2 separate regions of the Homo sapiens genome follow, and region 1 is linked to region 2. Evidence: promoter capture Hi-C in human tissues and cell types (Jung and others, 2019). All regions are on one chromosome and are shown on one strand. The core of a region is centred on a gene start or on the middle of the fragment in contact, and the rest is flanking DNA. Distances in the headings are between cores, read along the strand shown. Region 1 has its middle 14 kb from the start of TRIM61. Region 2 holds the start of TRIM60 (tripartite motif containing 60).

Region 1 (4,794 bases), core at 1,098-3,597, 41 kb after region 2:
GCGCGGTGGCTCAAGCCTGTAATCCCAGCACTTTGGGAGGCTGAGGCGGGCAGATCACGAGGCCAGGAGATGGAGACCATCCTGGTTAACACAGTGAAACCCCATCTCTGGCCGGGCATGGTGGCTCACGCCTGTAATCCCAGCACTTTGGGAGGCTGGGGCGGGCGGATCACCTGACGTCGGGAGTTCGAGACCAGCCTGACCAACATGGAGAAACCCTGTCTCTACTAAAAGTACAATATTAGCCGGGCATGGTGGCGCATGCCTGTAATCCCAGCTACTTGGGAGGCTGAGGCAGGAGAATCCCTTGAACCCAGGAGGCGCAGGTTGCAGTGAGCCGAGATGGCGCCATTGCACTCCAGCCTGGGCAACAAGAGCGAAACTCTGTCTCAAAAAAAAAAAAAAAGAAAAAAAGAAACCCCGTCTCTACTAAAAATACAAAAAATTAGCTGGGCATGGTGGCAGGCGCCTGTAGTCCCAGCTACTCGGGAGGCTGAGGCAGGAGAATGGCGTGAACCCGGGAGGTGGAGCTTGCAGTGAGCCGAGATCAAGCCACTGCACTCCAGCCTGGGCGACAGAGTGAGACTCCTTCTCAAAAAAAAAAAAAAAGAAAATGTTCTGGAATTAGAAAGTGATGCTGGGCTGGCCTCAGTGGCTCATGCCTGTAATCCCAACACTTTGGGAGGATGAGGTGGGAAGATCACTTGAGGTTGGGAGTTGGAGACCAGCCTGGCAAACATGGTGAAACCTTGTCTCTACTAAAAATACAAAAATTATCCAAGTATGGTGGTGCACTCCTTTAATCCAAGCTAGTTAGGAGGCTAAGGCTGGAGTATTGCTTGAATCTGGGAGGCAGAGGTTGCAGTGCACTGAGATCATACCACTGCACTCCAGCCTGGGTGACAGAGTGAGGCTCTGTCTCAAAAGAGAAAAATGTAAACTACAATATTTGGGTTAGATTAATTTTTTTTTTTTTTTTTTTTGAGGTGGAGTCTCACTCTGTTGCCAAGGCTGGAGTGCAGTGGTGAGATCTCGGCTCACTGCAAGCTCCACCTCCTGGGTTCAAGCGATTCTTCTGCCTCAGCCTCCTGAGTAGCTGGGAATACAGGCGCACCACTACCATGCCCGGCTAATTCTTATGTTTTTTCTAGAGACTGGGTTTCACTATGTTGGCCAGGCTGACCTCAAGTGATTCACTTACCTCAGCTTCCCAAACTGCTGGGATTACAGGTGTGAGACACCGTGCCCTGCCATAATTCTTTTTTTGTTTGCTTTTTTGTTTTTGAAATGGAATTCCCTCTTGTTGCCGAGGCTAGAGTGCAATGGCACAATCTTGGCTTACTGTAACCTCCGACCCCTGGGTTCAAGAGATTCTCCTACCTCAGCCACCCGAATAGATGGAATTACAGGTGCTCGCCACCATGCCCGGCTAATTTTTTTTTTCTTTTGAGATGGAGTTTCACTCTTGGTGCCCAGGCTGGAGTACAATGGCGTGATCTCGGCTCACCTCAACCTCCGCCTCCCGGGTTCAAACGATTCTCCTGCCTCAGCCTCCTGAGTAGCTGGGATTACAGGCATGTGCCAACACGCCCAGCTAATTTTGTATTTTTAGTAAAGATGAGATTTCTCCATAATGGTCAGGCTAGTTTCAAACTCCCGAACTCAGGTGATCTGCTCTCCTCGGCCTCCCAAAGTGCTGGGATTACAGGGGCGAGCCACCACGCTCGGACAATTTTTGTATTTGTAGTAGAGTCGGGGTTTTGCCATGTTGGCCAGGCTGATCTCAAACTCCTGACCTCAGGTGATACACCAGCCTCAGCCTCCCAAAGTGCTGGGATTACAGCCCTAAGCGACTGCACCCGGCCTTGTCCTAATTCCTAAGGTGATATTTAAAGCAGTCTGAGGGCAGAATAGCAAGGTAACCTCAAGGGAACCAAAAAGAGGTTGGAGTTTGAGGGTCCCCGGCAAAGCTTCACTCAACAATGGTGCTATCAAATAATACAAAATACACAGCAAATGCTCTATTTCTGAAGTTGGGAGCAGTGCTCCATTGCCACAGGTGCTACAGCTTAGAGGAGAAGGCACCAGGTGCTCCTCCCACTCAGAGGCGGCATAGCCCTGGGACTCACCTAACCTCCCGCACCAAGTTTCCTGAACTGTGCAGTATGAATTAGAACAGGATTCATCTCACACCAAATTTAAATAAGATCCAGTCAATTAAAACAGCAACTGAAACAGTGTTGTCTGATTTTAATTTCCTAAATTTGGAGAGCAGCACTTTCCAGTGGCTTGTGTGGCATCTCCAGGAGCTATGTGGACATTTCAGAGATACCATATTGTTTTAAAGGAGTGCTGTCATGTACTTCCATTCTGAAGGGGGGGGTTGCCCCTCCACACCTGTGGGTGTTACTCCTTAGGTGGAACGAGAGACTTGGAAAATAAAAAGACACAGAGACAAAGTATAGAGAGAGAAATAAGGGGGCCCAGGGGACCAGCGTTCAGCAGATGGAGGATCCCGCCAGCCTCTGAGTTCCCTTAGTATTTATTGATCATTCTTGCATGTTTCTCGGAGAGGCAGATGTGGCAGGGTCATAGGATAATAGTGGAGAGAAGGTCAGCAGATAAACACGTGAACAAAGGTCTCTGCATCATAGACAAGGTAAAGAATTAAGTGCTGTGCTTTAGATATATATACACGTAAACATCTCAATGCCTTAAAGAGCAGTATTGCTGCCCGCATGTCGCACCTCCAGCCTTAAGGCAGTTTTCCCCTATCTCAGTAGATGGAACATACAATCGGGTTTTATACCGAGACATTCCATTGCCCAGGGATGGGCAGGAGACAGATGCCTTCCTCTTGTCTCAACTGCAAAGAGGCGGTTCCTTCCTCTTTTACTAATCCTCCTCAGCACAGACCCTTTACGGGTGTCGGGCTGGAGGACGGTCGGTCTTTCCCTTCCCATGAGGCCATATCTCAGACTATCACATGGGGAGAAACCTTGGACAATACCTGGCTTTCCTAGGCAGAGGTCCCTGCGGCCTTCTGCAGTGTTTGTGTCCCTGGGTACTTGAGAGTAGGGAGTGGTGATGACTCTTAATGAGCATGCTGCCTTCAAGCATCTGTTTAACAAAGCACATCTTGCACCGCCCTTAATCCATTTAACCCTGAGTTGACACAGCACATGTTTCAGAGAGCAAGGGGTTGGGGGTAAGGTTACAGATTAACAGCATCTCAAGGCAGAAGAATTTTTCTTAGTACAGAACAAAATGGAGTCTCCTATGTCTACTTCTTTCTACACAGACACAGTAACAATCTGATCTCTCTTGCTTTTCCCCACACCATTCCTGTGGAAATATATGGTTGTTAGAGAGGGGAAAACATCAATATAGATATATTTAAATTAACACAGCTAAGGAAACTCCGAGAATACAAGTGAGCTTTCCAGAAGTAGAAGTGATCAGACAGGAGTTTCATGAAGCTGGTGCTCAATATTCAACCCAGCCTGCTCCTCAAGCGCGGTGAGGTTTGGGACATTGGACGGTGGAGTCTGAGTTGGGAGGGAGCTGTGCTGAGCTAACAACATTCCCTTGTTATTGACTTAAAATCAAGAAATAAGATTCACCCTCAGTCTAAGTTACTTACCTTCAATAGGATCTTGAGTTTGAGGGTCTCAGTTCTCTCCAGTTAATATATAAATTTCATGTGTTTTCAAGCAAATGTTTACAAGAACTCTGGTGATGTGTATCTGGTGATAGTAAAATTCCTATGCCAAAGTAATTGTCCAGGAGGCATCGAAGCCATTCTAAATAAGGAAGTACATACAGAGAAGATGTATTTTCCTAGTTGCTATCAAGATTTATTATACCATCCTACTATTGGACCAGGAATACAGAAATAAGTCTTTGAAAACATAGAGCTCAAAGCCCCCATCTGTGCTTATACATTTTCTAAAATACAACGTGCTAAAAGTTGTGGACCGGTAGTTCAGGCAAATGAGGTAATAACTCACCCAGAGTGAATAATGGGTGAAGACTGGGAAGGTAATTTAATACCAGTGATTTTTGAGGTAGCAGCTGCTAGATCACAAGCTTTTTGCTAATATTTTTTACCCAGTGTCTTACTCAGCTTGGGCTGCTATAAAAAACTACAATAGACTTGGTGGTTTAAACAAGAGACATTTAATTATGACAATTCCAGGGGTGGACAATCCCAAGATCAGGGTGTCAGCCTGGTGGGCTTCTGGTGAGGGCCCTCTTCTGGCCTGCAGGCTGCCTTAGTGCTATAACCTTACAAGGCAGAGTGAGGTACCTGGGAATTCTTTTCCTTTTCTCAAAAAGATATTAATCCCATTATGGGGGCTCCTCCTTTAGGACCTCATCGAAACCTAATTACCTGATAAAGATTTCATCTCCTAATACAATTGCATCGAGAGTCAGGGTTTGGACATGTGAATTTTAGGGGGATGCAAACATCTAGTCCATGACTCCCAGTAATACTTTTGTTTTCAAGTAATACATATTTTTTAAAATTTACAAAATCCTACTCTTCACACTCACTGGCTGTGCTTGAGAACATTCCAAATGCACTATAGTACTTTCTCCCATTTGCACTAAGGAGCCCGGCTCCTAGAAACAGTGCTGGCCTCACAGTTGAATTAGAATTTAATGAGAAAGCAAAGACTTAGCAAATAGTAAACAGTCACAGTAGGGGTTTGGATAATATTTTTGTTAATTGACTGTGACCCAGAACTAGTAAAGTGAAAGGAAAAAGTAAAAATCACCCATCCATGATTC
Region 2 (5,596 bases), core at 2,992-5,491:
AAAAATGTAAGGATGTTACAGTGCCTGACCCAGAACAGATGCTCACCAAGTGGTATTGTGCGGAAGAATGAGCACAGCAGGCCTAAGACTGCCACCCTTAGAAGGTTGCTTGCAAGGCTGCTACTTGGCTCTTGTCTGGCAACTTTGATTTCCAGAATTTATAAGGAACTTATGAGGAAATGGATCCTGCCATTCCCTTATAAGAAGGGCTCACTATTGGTCGGGTGCATGGCTCACACCTGTAATCCCAGTACTTTGGGAGGCCAAGGCGGGCAGATCACCTGAGGTCAGGAGTTCAAGACCAGCCTAGCCAACATGATGAAACCCTGTCTCTACTAAAAATACAAAAACTAGCTGGGTGTGGTGGCACATGCCTGTAATCTCAGCTACTTGGGAGGCTAAGGCAGGAAAATCGCTTGAACCCAGGAGGCGGAGGTTGCAGTGAGCCAAGATAGTACCATTGCACTCCAGTCTGGGCAACAGGAGCAAAACTCTGTCTAAAAAAAAAAAAGAAAGAAAAAAAGAAAAAAGAGTGGCTTACTACACCTACAGTGTTTATACAAACAATGAGGTTTATGATGAATAGCTGCTTTCCTTCTGAGAAACTAGAATTTTGATATAAGCTAGGAAGGAGCCTGCATGATCTCTTCCCAATAAAAATTCCGGAAAGACAAATCTTCAATGAGCATCTTTGGTATGTAACAGTTCACTCATTTATCACTTTGTCTTCAGAGAAACTAAGCAGGTCCTGTGTGACATCACGCAGAGCGGACTTTTGGAAGCTTACGCTTGGTTTCATCCAGACTTCATCCCACACACCATTTTCCTTTGCTGATTTTGCTTTGTATCCTTTCACTATAATAAACCATAATTGTTGGCCAGGCACGGTGGTTCGCATCTGTAATCCCAGCACTTTGGGAGGCTGAGGCAAGAGATCAATTGAGGCCAGACACTCAAGACCAGTCTGGGCAACAGAGCAAGACCTCATCTCTACAAAATTTTATGAAAATCAGCCAGGCATGGTGGCATGTCCCTATAGTGCCAGCACTGAGAAGGCTGGGGTGAGAGGATTCCTTGAGCCCAGGAGTTCAAGGCTTCAGTGAGTCATGATTGTGCCATTATACTCCAGTCTGGGTGACAGAGAGAGATACCTCAAAAAAATTAAGTTATAACCTCAAATAATACTATGCTGACTCCTGTGGTCATTTTAGCAAATCACCAAACCTAGGGGTGGTCTTGGGGATACTAATACAGGTATTATTACAAAATCTTATAAAATTTCCAAGTGAAAAGTGCATTTAGAAATCTAGCCAAACTGCCTACATTTATGTCATTAACTGTCGTAGTATGTATAGTATAGTACTATTTTGGTCTAAAAGCTACTATATCTCTCACTGCTCCTAATTAGAAAAGGTGTTAACTGTTCATAGCAGTAGTCGGGCAGAAAATGTCATGTACATTCCAATTTTGAAGGGACAGTAAGGTATTATTACATCTTAAAAATTATAATATTTTTCAATCATAAGGAATTAAAATAAAATAATAATGTGTCCTTTAACTCTTCCCACCTTCCAATTTAACATTTTCATAAATAACAATGTCATTGCAAAAGCTCCTAATCCTTGTTTTAACACACCATGTTTAATGGATGCTTTGGGGCTGAGTAAATTTGAAAAGGAAGTTTTAAGCATTCTGAACAAAGCTGTACAGCCAATACATTGCAAAATATGACTGGAATTTTTTAAATTATAAGAAAGAACCACATTGCTGTAAAAAAGGGTATTTCATGGACGGGCGCAGTGGCTCACGCCTGTAATCCCAGCACTTTGGGAGGCCGAGGTGGGTGGATCATGAGGTCTGGAGTTCGAGACCAGCCTGACTAACATGGTGAAACCCCGTCTCTACTAACAATACAAAAATTAGCCAGGTGTAGTGGCGTGCGCCTGTAATCCCAGCTCCTCAGAAAGGCTGGGGCAGGAGAATTGCTTGAACCCAGGAGGTGGAGGTTGCAGTGAGCCGAGATCACGCCACTGCACTCCATCCTGGGCGACAGAGTGAGAGTCATCTTAAAAAAAAAAAAAAAGTGTATTTCATTTAAAATAAAAAGGTGCAGGGAACATTCCTGCATAGATCCTGGAACTCAATGGTTCGTCCTTCCCCACACACTCCAGCTTCCCCTAACCCATCTTCCAGACTCAGGCAATGAAGTTTAAAGAACAGCATTATAAGCCACTCTTCTCAGTCCAAGCTATAAACATTAGCCTACTATAGTAACTATCTTCTGATACCTGAAGACAAGGCCCCTGTCTCCCAGCATCTATGGGAGAGTTGGGGCCTGACTTCCTTAAGTGCCAGTGAGCAAACCTGGGTGTGTTTCACATGACCCAACCACCCCTTTCCCACTTTTTGTAATTTTTCACTTCCCTGACTCTACTGAGCGCCAACTCACTACCTTCATTCCCCAGTTCCCCTTTGAAGCACTTGGTCACCTCTGTACAAATCACAGTTGAGTTCTGTTCATGCTGAATTCTCCCTATTGCAATAGTACAGTACTGATTAAAATCTGTCCTTATGACTACCCAGTGTCTGGCTTTATTTTTGACATGCTCTATCCCGTCAATCAATTCCATAACTCTATAGTTTCCAAACACAGATCTAATCCTATAACCTTCCGATTTCCAATGGAATGGCTTTTCTTACTCTTAAGTATTACAAGACTCACCAACATCTGGACTTTACTCTTTTCCTGACTCCACATATCTATCATACTGCAGATTACAGTTGAGATTTTTACATTTATTTTTGTCAACCTTTGGTTAAGGACACTGGAGAGTACAGTTCACGGTCTGAATTCTTCCTTATTTTCCTCACAACTGAATTACCAACTCTGATTCTTATGCTGGTGTACAACGTGTGTTCAATAATTATTAGGCTAATAAATCAAACCTGCAGTAGATTCCCTACTCTCAAAATTCAACCTCTACTGCTTGAGATCTTGTCACATTAAAAAAGAAAAATTCAACCTCTATTACCTTATTTATTTTACTTTTTGAGACAGGATCTCACTCTGTCGCCAAGGCTGGAGTGCAGTGGCGCGATCTCCATTCACTGCAACCTCTGCCTCCAGGCTCAAGCGATCCTCGCACCTCAGCCTCCCGAGTAGCTGGGACCACAGGCACGCCCCACCATGCCCGGATTTTTTTTTTTTTTTTTGTAGAGACAGGGGTCTCACTATGTTGCCCAGGCACGAGCGTGAGCTAGAACTCCTGGGTTCAAGCGATCCTCCCGCATCGGCCTCCTCATGGGGTTACAGGTGTGAGCCACCGCGCCTGGCTCCTACTCTGATTCTTGTGCTGGTTCATAGTGTGGGCTCAGTGAATATAAATCAAACCTGTGGGAGATTCCCAGATCTCAAGATTCAACCTCTATTACTTTAGATGATACGAAACGTAAGTGAGCCTAAACTTTCTCATCCGTAGCAGTTTCCTGACAGCCAGATCCTTGTGAGGACGGAAGGAGACAAAATCCGCCAGAGAAGTGCTGGCGCTGTAGGGTGGGAGGTCCTTCCTTAACGCTCCCACCATAATTTTTGGAGATCACGTGGCCACTTCCCAAACTGGTGTTCAGATCAGAATCTTCTTTAAAGTTCAATCATCGGGGTCCCACTGCCTCCGCGGCGAAAACAGAATCCGGCCGAGCACGGTGGCTCACGCCTGTAACCCCAGCACTTTGGAAGGCCGAGGCGGGCGGACCACCTGAGGTCGGAAGTTCGACACCAGCCTGGCCAACATGGAGAAACCTCGTCTCTACTAAAAATACAAAAATTAGCTGGGTGTGGTGGCGAGCGCCTGTAATCCCAGCTACTCAGGAGGCTGAGACAGGAGAATCGCTTGAATCCGGGAGGCGGAGGTTGCAGTGAGGCGAGATTGCGCCACTGCACTCCAGCGTGGGTGACAGAGCGAGACTCCGTCTCAGAAACAAAAAAAAGGATCCACAGTCTGAGCTCAGTCGTGGACAGGTCGCGACCCCGAGGTTTGGGCACAGCTGATACTCAGGAAGCCCCTGCCCAGTTAAGTAAGCCTCCCGCCAGGCCCTACTGCGCCTTTCCTGCGGCCCTCCCAGCTTACCTGGAGCAGTTGGACCGGCGGCTCAGGCCTGATGCTGTGCAGGACCCATGGAACCCCGCGGGGCGCAGAGCGGAAACCCTCACACAACCCTGGGCGCCTTGGTTTTCGAGTTTTAGGCATACAATTGACCAGCGCGGTGGTTGGCTGCTCCACCGGAAGTGGGCGGGAAAGGCCTGAGCATGCTCAATGCCGCAGGGTGCAGGGAGCGTGAGAAGATTCTGAGGAGAGCCTAGGGCGGTTCCCTCCGTGGTGGGGTCCCTGATGGCTTCAGTGGGTCATTTAAATCACAATGGCAATCTTTTCAGATTTTTCATTCCTATGAGCAACTTTTTTTTTTTCTTTTTTTTTGAGACAGGGTCTGGTGCGGTCTCGGCTCACTGTAGTCTCGACCATCCGGGCTCAAACGATCCTCCCACTTCACAGGCGCGCGCCACCACGCCCAGCTGATTGTTGTATTTTTTGGTGGAGACTGGGTTTCGCCACGTTCCCCGGGCTGGTCTCGAACTCATGGGCTCAAGCGATCCGCCTGCCTCGCTGTGAGCCACCGCGCCCGGCCAGGGTGGTTAGTTTTAAAATGCAAGAGGAATAATCAGCTCTTTGGATCAGTTTGCGTCTCTGGTTGAGAGGCTGCGTAGTTACCACCCTGGAGATTAGGCCCCACCCTACCAACTAAGACTCACCAAGGTCTCGTCTGAGGAATTGATATTTAAAGTAGATTTTAAGGGACGAGTATGAGTTTGTTGGACAAACTTGACGGTAAAATCTTCAAGGCTGAAGGATTAGTCCTTGTGAGGAGCCTCTTAAGTCTTATAACTTGGTAAATGAGACAGTGAAAGAGGCTAATATTTGCAGAAGAAGTCATAGAATCGGCATAGCACTTTTTTATTTATTTATTTATTTTTGAGACGGAGTCTCGCTGTGTTGCCCAGGCTGGAGTGCAGTGGCACGATCTCGGCTCACTGCAAGCTCTGCCTCCCGGGTTCACGCTGTTCTCCTGCCTCAGCCCCCCGAGTGGCTAGGACTACAGGCGCCCGACACCACGCCCAGCTAATTTTTTCTATTTTTTAGTAGAGACGGGGTTTCACTCTGTTAGCCAGGATGGTCTCGATCTCCTGACCTCGTGATCCACCCGTCTCGGCCTCCCAAAGTGCTGGGATTACAGGCGTGAGCCATCGCGCCTGGCCGGCGCACTTTTCTGTTTAAAATGTAGGGCTACTTGGCCAGGCGCGGTGGTTCACACATGCAATCCCAGCACTTTGGGAGGCCAAGGCGGGCGGATCAGCTGAGGTCGGGAGTTCGAGACCAACCTGGCTAAAGTGGCAAAACCCCGTCTCTCTAAAAATACAAAAAATTAGCCGGGCATGGTGGTGCATGCCTGTAATCCCAGCTACTCGGGAGGCTGAGGCAGGAGAAGAGCTTGGACCCGGGAGGCGGAGGTTGCAGTGAGCCAAGATCGGGTCACTGCACTC

What was found. The method cuts DNA at HindIII sites, captures the fragments that hold promoters and counts their contacts. A contact is called where the count stands out against the background at its distance.
Region 1: a contact is called between a fragment that was not itself captured here and the fragment with the promoter of TRIM60 in region 2, in 3 of the 25 tissues and cell types used here (H1 embryonic stem cells, dorsolateral prefrontal cortex and neural progenitor cells).

The regions. Positions count from the first base shown.
Region 1 is chr4:164,988,928-164,993,721 of GRCh38, reverse strand. No RefSeq gene overlaps it. Among named protein-coding and RNA genes, the nearest start is that of TRIM61, 14 kb to the right of the region's middle. RefSeq lists an enhancer at 2,031-2,724. The HindIII fragment of the contact is 5,765 bases long and covers 1-4,794 here.
Region 2 is chr4:165,030,644-165,036,239 of GRCh38, reverse strand. It overlaps TRIM60 (tripartite motif containing 60), which reads right to left and starts at 4,241. Exons shown (of 3, transcript NM_152620.3): 1 at 4,128-4,241. RefSeq lists an enhancer at 4,083-4,739. The HindIII fragment of the contact is 10,604 bases long and covers 1-5,596 here.